3 separate regions of the Homo sapiens genome follow, and all the other regions are linked to region 3. The links are contacts of gene promoters, found by promoter capture Hi-C in blood cells and fetal thymus (Javierre and others, 2016). All regions are on one chromosome and are shown on one strand. The core of a region is centred on a gene start or on the middle of the fragment in contact, and the rest is flanking DNA. Distances in the headings are between cores, read along the strand shown.

The links. Contacts are between HindIII fragments. The CHiCAGO score rates a contact against its expected background, and 5 or more counts as called.
Region 1: a fragment that was not itself captured here is called in contact with the fragment with the promoter of ZYX in region 3 in 1 of 17 cell types (naive CD8 T cells); the score reaches 5.1 in naive CD8 T cells.
Region 2: a fragment that was not itself captured here is called in contact with the fragment with the promoter of ZYX in region 3 in 1 of 17 cell types (activated CD4 T cells); the score reaches 5.4 in activated CD4 T cells.

Annotation. Positions count from the first base shown.
Region 1 is chr7:142,803,304-142,806,003 of GRCh38, forward strand. It overlaps TRB. Among named protein-coding and RNA genes, the nearest start is that of PRSS2, 34 kb to the left of the region's middle. RefSeq lists a cis regulatory region at 1,400-1,801. The HindIII fragment of the contact is 5,985 bases long and covers 1-2,700 here.
Region 2 is chr7:142,826,946-142,829,645 of GRCh38, forward strand. No RefSeq gene overlaps it. Among named protein-coding and RNA genes, the nearest start is that of EPHB6, 27 kb to the right of the region's middle. The HindIII fragment of the contact is 944 bases long and covers 874-1,817 here.
Region 3 is chr7:143,379,913-143,382,630 of GRCh38, forward strand. It overlaps ZYX (zyxin), which reads left to right and starts at 1,433. Exons shown (of 10, transcript NM_003461.5): 1 at 1,433-1,497; 2 at 1,645-1,867; 3 at 2,336-2,535; 4 at 2,681-2,718. The coding sequence starts at 1,660. FAM131B-AS2 (FAM131B antisense RNA 2) reads right to left here and starts at 1,113. Exons shown (of 2, transcript NR_161353.1): 1 at 354-1,113; 2 at 1-197. It also overlaps a transcript of FAM131B not described here. RefSeq lists enhancers at 1-72, 229-1,129, 253-342 and silencers at 843-1,872, 1,903-1,952. The HindIII fragment of the contact is 8,995 bases long and covers 1-2,718 here.

The DNA of each region.
Region 1 (2,700 bases), core at 108-2,607, 580 kb before region 3:
TAGGGCCCAGTGGGGGCTGAAGTGCTATGTTCAGAGTAGCCCTTCCAATGGGCTTCTTCGTTTGATGGATGGAAACCAAACCACTCCAAACACAAGGTGTTAACTGCTCCTACTTGGGCAAAGACAGTTATCCTGTCAAGGTAAATTCTGCATACAGGCTGAATGCATTGTGGTAAAACACTACATGGAGGAAGAGGAGGAATGGGATTAAAGAAAAGGAGGCCTAGAACAGTGAGAGGGGCTGAGAGAGGCCATGTCGAAGTTAGTTGAGGAAGACTGTCAGGGGAGAGAAGAGAAGTCTGAAAGCAGAGAAAGGTTGGGAAAGAGGAGGGAGCCCTTTGTTGAGAGCCTGCTTGCTTCAGGCCTCAGGCTGGACGCTGCTACCTGTGCTGTCTGCATCTGCACAATGATCCCAGGAACAGGTATTATTTTCCCCATGTTATAGATGTGGAAACTGAAGATTACAGTTCAAATTACTTATGAGTTGTGAAACCGTGGCATGTTCTGCTGAAGATGGCAATTCTGGAAACTTTTTCCAAGTAGTTACCAGGATGGTGGGATTGCTCCTGGTATCTGGGTGATCCTAGAGCAGCTTCTCCCAAACTCCAGGCAGGGCCCATGGTAACACACTGAAGACACCTTAATGCCTTGGTGTCTTTGTTTCCCACGGCTGCCGTAACAAAGTACCACTGGTGGGTTTAAAACAATAAAAACTTATTCTCTCACAGTTCTGGAGGCTAAAGATACAACACCAAGATGTCAGCGGGTCATCCTGTATGACAGCTCTAGGGGAGAATCCTTTCCTGCTTCTTCCCATGTCTGATGGCTTCTGGCACTCCTTGGCTTGTGCCAGCATCGCAGCAATCTCTGCCTCTGTCTTCACATGGCATTTTCCCTGTGTCTCTGCATTTAAGCTCCCCTCTCCTTTCTCTTTTCAAGGCATGGTCTTAGGATTTAGGGCCCACCCTAAATCCAGAACAATTTTATTGAGAGATCTTAACAAATTATACCTGCCAAGTCCCTATTTCCAAATAAGGTCACATTCTGAGTTTCTGAGTGGGCATGAATTCTGGGGGAACACTCTTCTTCCCACTACACTGGGGATCTTGGAACTGGAGAAGAGGGTTCTCTGGTGGCAGCTTGCAAAGACCAGGAAAGGATGTGCTCACAGCAGGGATGGGGCCCAGGAAACTCATCACATGCCGGTCATTTCCATCAGTCGTAACTATCTCTAGACTGCTCAAAATGCAGTATAGTATTTTGTTGGCTATTGTTGTTACATATGTGCTGGTTTGTTTTTATATTGGCTAAAAAAAAGCCTAAAACAAAGGGGACAGGCTTTAGGCCCTAGACCAACATTCATGCTTCCCACTCCTTAGACCTGCGTGGAGGCAGCAGGCATATCCTTGTGGCTCCTCGCAAAGGTAGGACAGGAGGATGAGCAGCCGAGGGAACAAGGAAGCACTTCAGAGAGAGCAGAACTGTGGGGGCCAGAGGGCGCAGGCTAGGACTGGGGATATTGGAGGATAGTGGTTTGTGTGGGCAGAGCTGTGAGGGGCTGAGCAGCTGTAGTGCAAGATTAGAGTGGAGGTGGGAAGGGGGAAACACCTTGTAGAAGAAAGATAGTGTCTGTTAGTTTGATGGCCATCATCTTGGGGACGTGGAAAACGGAGGCATTAGCAGGTGGGAGGATGTGGGAGGAGTTTCTTGTTAGTACCCTAGAGTTTGCAATCAGACCCAGGTGAATGAATTCTCCTCTGGAGGATAAAAGGCCATGTGAATTTTACCCTCTCAGTCCAGGGGACTTGACAGAGATGGAGAGAGCTTCAAGCTCCATCTGGTCCTCCCAACACCCTACTTGACCCAGGGCAGGTTCCTCTTCCCAAGTTTTTACAGCCATTTCCTTGTCTCTCTCAAACAACACCCCCAACATTCAGCACGCATGCACTGGGAAGTGAATCTCTTCTGCCTCTACCTGCCTTTTTCTCTAGAATCGAAGTGGATTCTTCTGGGCCAATTCTGGGCATCCTCTCCATTCTTCCTCAGGTAACACTGAGAAAAGATGAGTTCGATGTAGGGCAATAATATAACTTACTGTAAGAATTGAGATACCATTGAAAATGAAAGGGGCCCATTGGCCACATGGGATGCTGGAACAAGAGGAGTAAACCAGGAATGGTCACAAGGCCCCTCCAGTGGAGAGGCTCTGAGGGAGTTTCTGGGTGCAGCATTATTCCTGCAAAGGGAGGTACTAAAGGGACTCCACACCAACCTGGACTTGTTGACTGGTTCAAACCTCAGGGCTGACCTAAGCATCATCCTATGAAGAAACCATGTGGACAGAATATAGGGCAAGGCAGGGACAACAGCATCCAACACAGGTGACACCCAGTGCAGAGCAAAGCATGCTTACTTATTGAAAAGAGTTACAAGAAAAGCATCTCTGGAAGAATGTCTAGGGTACCCCAAGTTCTCGCTGAACTTAGCATGGAGTAGCTCTTAAAGAGAAGAACTTCACCTGTGACCTTTACAGATTTATTTGGGAAATTGGAAGAAAAAGGGGGTCATCCAAATGGTTGTGTAATAAAATAACTTCTTTGTGGGGGAAATGGGATTCCCGTGAGCATCCCAGAGCCCCAGTCACCATCACTTCCTGAGAGGAAGAATCTTCCCATCAGCACCAGTATCCATAGAGATTTT
Region 2 (2,700 bases), core at 96-2,595, 550 kb before region 3:
TAGTCAAAATTTGGAAAAAATCCAATTGCCTATTAATGGGCGAACTAATGCTGAAATTGTCATGTATCCACACAAAGGAAAATTAGCAATAAAAAGAATGAACTATTTAAATTTAAAACAACATAGATAAATCTCAAAATAATATGATGAATAAAAGTAAAGAAACAAAAAAGAGTACATAGTTTATAATTGCATTATATTAAATTCTAGAAAACACAAAGAAATCTATAGTAATAGAAGAAGCACTCTATCAGTGTTTGTCTGGGAACAGCATGGAGAGAAGGATGGAATTATAAAAAGCCACAAGGCTATTCACAATAGCAAAGACATGGAATCAAACCAGGTGCCCATCAATGGTAGATTGGATCAAGAAAATGTGGTACATATACACCATGGAATGGTACGCAGCCATAAAAAAAGAATGAAATTATGTTCTTTGCAGCAAAATGGATGCAGTTGGAGGCCATAATCCTAAGCAAATTAATCCAGGAACGGAAAACCAAATATCGCATGTTATCACTTAAAAGTGGGAACTAAACATTGAGCATACATGGATATAAACAATGGAACAATAGACATTGTGAACTACCAGAAGGGGGAGAGAGACAAGGGGAAGTGTTTTGAAAAACTACCTATCAGGCACTATCTTCTGTACCTGGGTGACAAGATCTGTACTTCAAACCTCAGTACAAACCTCAGTATTAGGCAATATTCCCATGTAACAAATCTGCACATGTTCTCCCTGTATCTAAAATAAAAGTTGAAATTTAAATAAATAAATAAATAGCGGGCCACAGCAAAACTTTTGGAGGTGATGTGTAAGTTCATTACATTAAGTTTTATGATGGTTTCCCAGGTGTTTGCGTATGTCAAAGCTTACCAAATTGTACATTTTAAAGATGTCTATTGTTTGTCAAGTGCATTTTAATAAAGCTGTAAAAGAAAGAATTATTTTTGATACAGTGTTAGGACAACAGAAAACCACTGAGAAAATTTAAGCAAGAGAATGTCAATAATTAATGCCACATTTTAACTAATTAACTGCAATTAATCACAATCAATCAGTAAGAAAAGGTTTTGTGCTGAAGATTTTCCAGAGAGATAAGTAAGCAAGTATATCATGCATGCAGTGGAGCAGGGCAGAGCCTCATAAAATCCCTCTTAAACGTGTCTGTTCTTTTGCCAAATTTCCATTCTGGTTGCCAGCTACCTTTTTCCTCCTCTTTCTTTCCACAGCCACTGCCATCCTCATTATAGCCCCAGACAATTCAGCTCTTGAAAGTGTATCCAGCAAAACAAAAGTGTAACAGCAGCTCAGCACCACTTGGAAAGCAGTTGCATAGCCACCTCTTTCTCTACAAGCTCAGTCCTTCCTGAGGTTGCCCTCTCACCTATTCCCCTACATCAAAAGTGACTCATCAAAGTATTCAGTAGACAAAATTAGTCTCTATCCAGGGAGAATTCACTACTTGGAAAGTAAGATGTTCTGTTTCTCATTACATACAAAAAAAAAAAAAGTTGATAAAATCACAGAATTCAGTTTGAGAGAGAGGAAGATACTAAATGTCATTTGTCATTCTGACCTTGAAGTCACATTGAGTCCAATTCAATCAGAAAAGTGCAAGTGAAAATTTGGATTTTTAATGAGACACCAGGACTAGAAATACTGACTTCAGGGGTCATCCGCAGAGAGAAAATAGTTGAAATGTTTGGAATGGATGAGATCTCCAAAGCAACAAGTGAAGAAAAAGGAACAAAGGTCCAAAAATAAAAACTGTTGAACATCCACACTTATAGGTAAAAGGAGGGGAAAAGTAAGCTTAAGAAATTAAGAAAGTAGTTCTAGAGGGAAGACAAGAAATGGGATGGTATCTTGGAAGTTCAGAGGAGACTGTGGGTACAAAGAGGTGGCAGCAGGATTTAAAAGAACTTTAAAAATTCAGTAAAATTAGGACTGAATGACTTCACCGATGTTGTTGACTAGAGGAGGAGAAAGTAGCAGATTCAGAGCACTCATTTGACAAGTTTAGGGGCAGAGCGAGTAAGGGAGAGGTTAAAGGGAATGGTAGAGTTGAATACAGTCTTTTATTCCAACGTATTTATAGTCTGATTATATAGAAAGCCAAGAGGAAGAACTACATAAAGACAGGAAAATTGAAGATGCTAAAGAAAGAAGATATTTGAGAAACAAAGAGGCATGTGGATTAATTATTGGACATCAAGAAGGGGGAACTTTTTTCCTCTGAAATAGGAAAAGAAGAGAAAATGCGTAAAAGATAGACCTGCACTGAGGAAGGCCAACATACATACAGAAAGAGGCTAGATCTAATGATCGGTTGAATGTAATGTTTTTAAAAACCCACCATTTCACCCATCAGATTGGCATAATTAAAAGAATCAATAGTATCTGATGTTGGCAAGCATGTAGGGAAATAACATGCTCTCATGCACAGCTGGAAAGTAAACTGCAACAGTCTTTATGGAGGGTAATTTGGCAGTGTTTATTGAAACTCCACATGGCCGGGCGCAGGGGCTCACGCCTGTAATCCCAGCATTTTAGGAGGCCAAGGCGGGTGGATCACAAGGTCAAGAGATCGAGACGATCCTGGCCAACATGGTGAAACCCCGTCTCTATTAAAAAAAAAACACAAACATTAGCTGGGCATTGTGGCACGTGCCTGTCGTCCCAGCTACTCGGGA
Region 3 (2,718 bases), core at 183-2,682:
TCCTGCCTTTACCTGGGTGTGACCCGGGTCCATCTCTTCAGCTCGGCCTCTGCTTTCTCTTCATAAACTTTTGGGGTTAGTCCTCGGATGATCTCTAAAACATGGCCCAGGTGCTCCTTGCCAGTAGAGTGTAGCCGGATTTGGAGGGACTGGACACTCAGTGTGAACAAGACGAAGGCCTCAGGAGGCAGTAAAAGCTGACAAGAGGAGAGAAAATGAAGCGCCTACGGGTGCATACTGGACTAGCGGGCGAAAGGCCATGACTCCTTAGTTTGGAGAAAGAACTGGGGCCGAGATTGGGGAAGTTTCCCAGTGCAATTAAAAAAAAAAAAAAAAAGAACTAGAAGAATTACCCAGGTCTGGCTTCTTTCGTGTAGCCTGGGGCTGAGTCGCAGGCTGAGAAATCCAGTCTGGCCAGTAGGGGGCTCCACCAAGCGCAGTCTCAGAATGCCCAAGAGCTCCACCGTCGCCCGGGGTCTCCACCAAGCGCAGTCTCAGAATGCCCAAGAGCCCCACCGTCGCCCGGGGTCTCCAAGAGGAGTGGGTCGTGGTGGGCGTTGAAGGGCCGTAAAAGACGAGCAGCCCGCGTCCGCGTCCGTCCTCCCGGGTCTCCAGTCCGCAGGCGGCCGCCGCCTCGGCCCCGCCCTCCCACCTCCATTCCCGGCCCCGCGGACCCGAACGGTCCCTCTCGCAACCGATCTGCTGGCTGGGGCGCTGGGGATGCGAATTCCTAGAAGCCTTAAGAGGCTGCCCAGCGTTGGAAGTTCGTATCCCCAAGAATGCTGGAGGTTCCGGCTCACACACCCCCTCCGGGCACAGAGTCAGCTGGGGGGTGCTGGGAGGGAGAACGCCCCGCTCCTCACCCCCCATCCCCGTGCACCCTGGAGCCCAGCTCCATACGTTCGGCCACCCCAGGCGGACTCGGGGTGGCCGGGTAGCGGGTGGTGGCAGGAGGGGACCGGGTAACGGCAGGCCCGAGAGGAGGTCGCTGGGCCGGGCCGGAGGCGCACAGGGGCTGCGTGGCTACCTCGGCGGCACCCGCCCCACCTCCGCCGGCTAAGCCCGGAGGGGGACGGTGAGTCAGATCTCGGGCACCCGCGGGTCGGGCGGGGAGGGGGAGGCAGGTCAGGAAATGACATCAGAGGCCTGTGCTCAGGGAGTGGGGGTCTGAGCCGGGCTGGGGCGGCGGGGGCGGCAGTGAGTGGGGTGGGGGCGAGCGGACCTCGGCGGAGCCTCCGGCCTGAGGCAGGATCAGGGCCCCTTCCTGGGGGAGTTTCCTGCCTGGTCCGCCCTTCCCCGCTCTCCCCGCCCCCTCTCCGGGCCGCTCCTTGTATGGTCTGGGCGCCGCTCTCTCCCCGCCCCCTCTCTTCTCCCTCCCTCCTCCTTCCGTGTGTCCCTCCCCGCCCGGCTGGAGGCTGCTCCGGACCGGGACGCAGAGTCTGCGGACCCGGCGCCGAGGCGGCCACCCGAGACGCGGCGCGCACGCTCCGGCCTGCGGTGAGGCGCGGGGAGCGGCAGGGCGGCCCCACGGGGAGGGGGCGCGGGGCGCCGGGAGGGGGCGAGTGGGGGTCACCAAGGGGAGCTGGGACCGCCTGGGGCTCCTGAGCCCGGCTCCGCGCTGCGTAACCCGGCGACCCACCCCAGCAGCCCGGCCCGGCCATGGCGGCCCCCCGCCCGTCTCCCGCGATCTCCGTTTCGGTCTCGGCTCCGGCTTTTTACGCCCCGCAGAAGAAGTTCGGCCCTGTGGTGGCCCCAAAGCCCAAAGTGAATCCCTTCCGGCCCGGGGACAGCGAGCCTCCCCCGGCACCCGGGGCCCAGCGCGCACAGATGGGCCGGGTGGGCGAGATTCCCCCGCCGCCCCCGGAAGGTATGCGGCGGGGCTTGGGGAATGTACCCCGGCAGGAGCCGGGGTGGGGGGCAGTCGTTTCGGGAATTTGGGGATGTCTGGAAAGGTTGTTGCCGAGGGGGCTGGGCGCAGCCACCCTGTCCCGAGCAGATGTTCTTACCTCATCGTGGAGCTCGTGGCTGGGAGCCAGGGCTCCTGGGACCGTTCCAAGTCCCCCGCCTGGGAGTGGGAGTCGGGAATGTGGGGCACGAATCTTCCCCTCCGGGTCCGTTTTCCGAAGTGTAACGGGAGCTGCACCACTCCTCGGCAGTGCGCCCGGCCTTTCCTGACCTGGTACTCCCAGGGCGCCCTGCGCCCCTCCTTTGCTTCCCCACACGCTCTGGGACCCCTGAGAGAGTTCTTGGGTTAGGGGTTAGAGCGGTTAACTGAGGGGAGCTTGGGTGAGGGGTAGAGGGACCCCGGCCGACGTCTTTCTCCTTCCTACCCCAGACTTTCCCCTGCCTCCACCTCCCCTTGCTGGGGATGGCGACGATGCAGAGGGTGCTCTGGGAGGTGCCTTCCCGCCGCCCCCTCCCCCGATCGAGGAATCATTTCCCCCTGCGCCTCTGGAGGAGGAGATCTTCCCTTCCCCGCCGCCTCCTCCGGAGGAGGAGGGAGGGCCTGAGGCCCCCATACCGCCCCCACCACAGGTACGGAGGCCTGGGAGGGGCGGCTGCACTGGACACCCCCAAGGAGAGGAGAAGAGGGCCCTTTCTTCTTACCTCCCCTGCACCTCTGCCTTGGGGGTGGGGGGATAGAGGCATGGAATAGGTGCTCTGACCTCTGACCCTCTAGCCCAGGGAGAAGGTGAGCAGTATTGATTTGGAGATCGA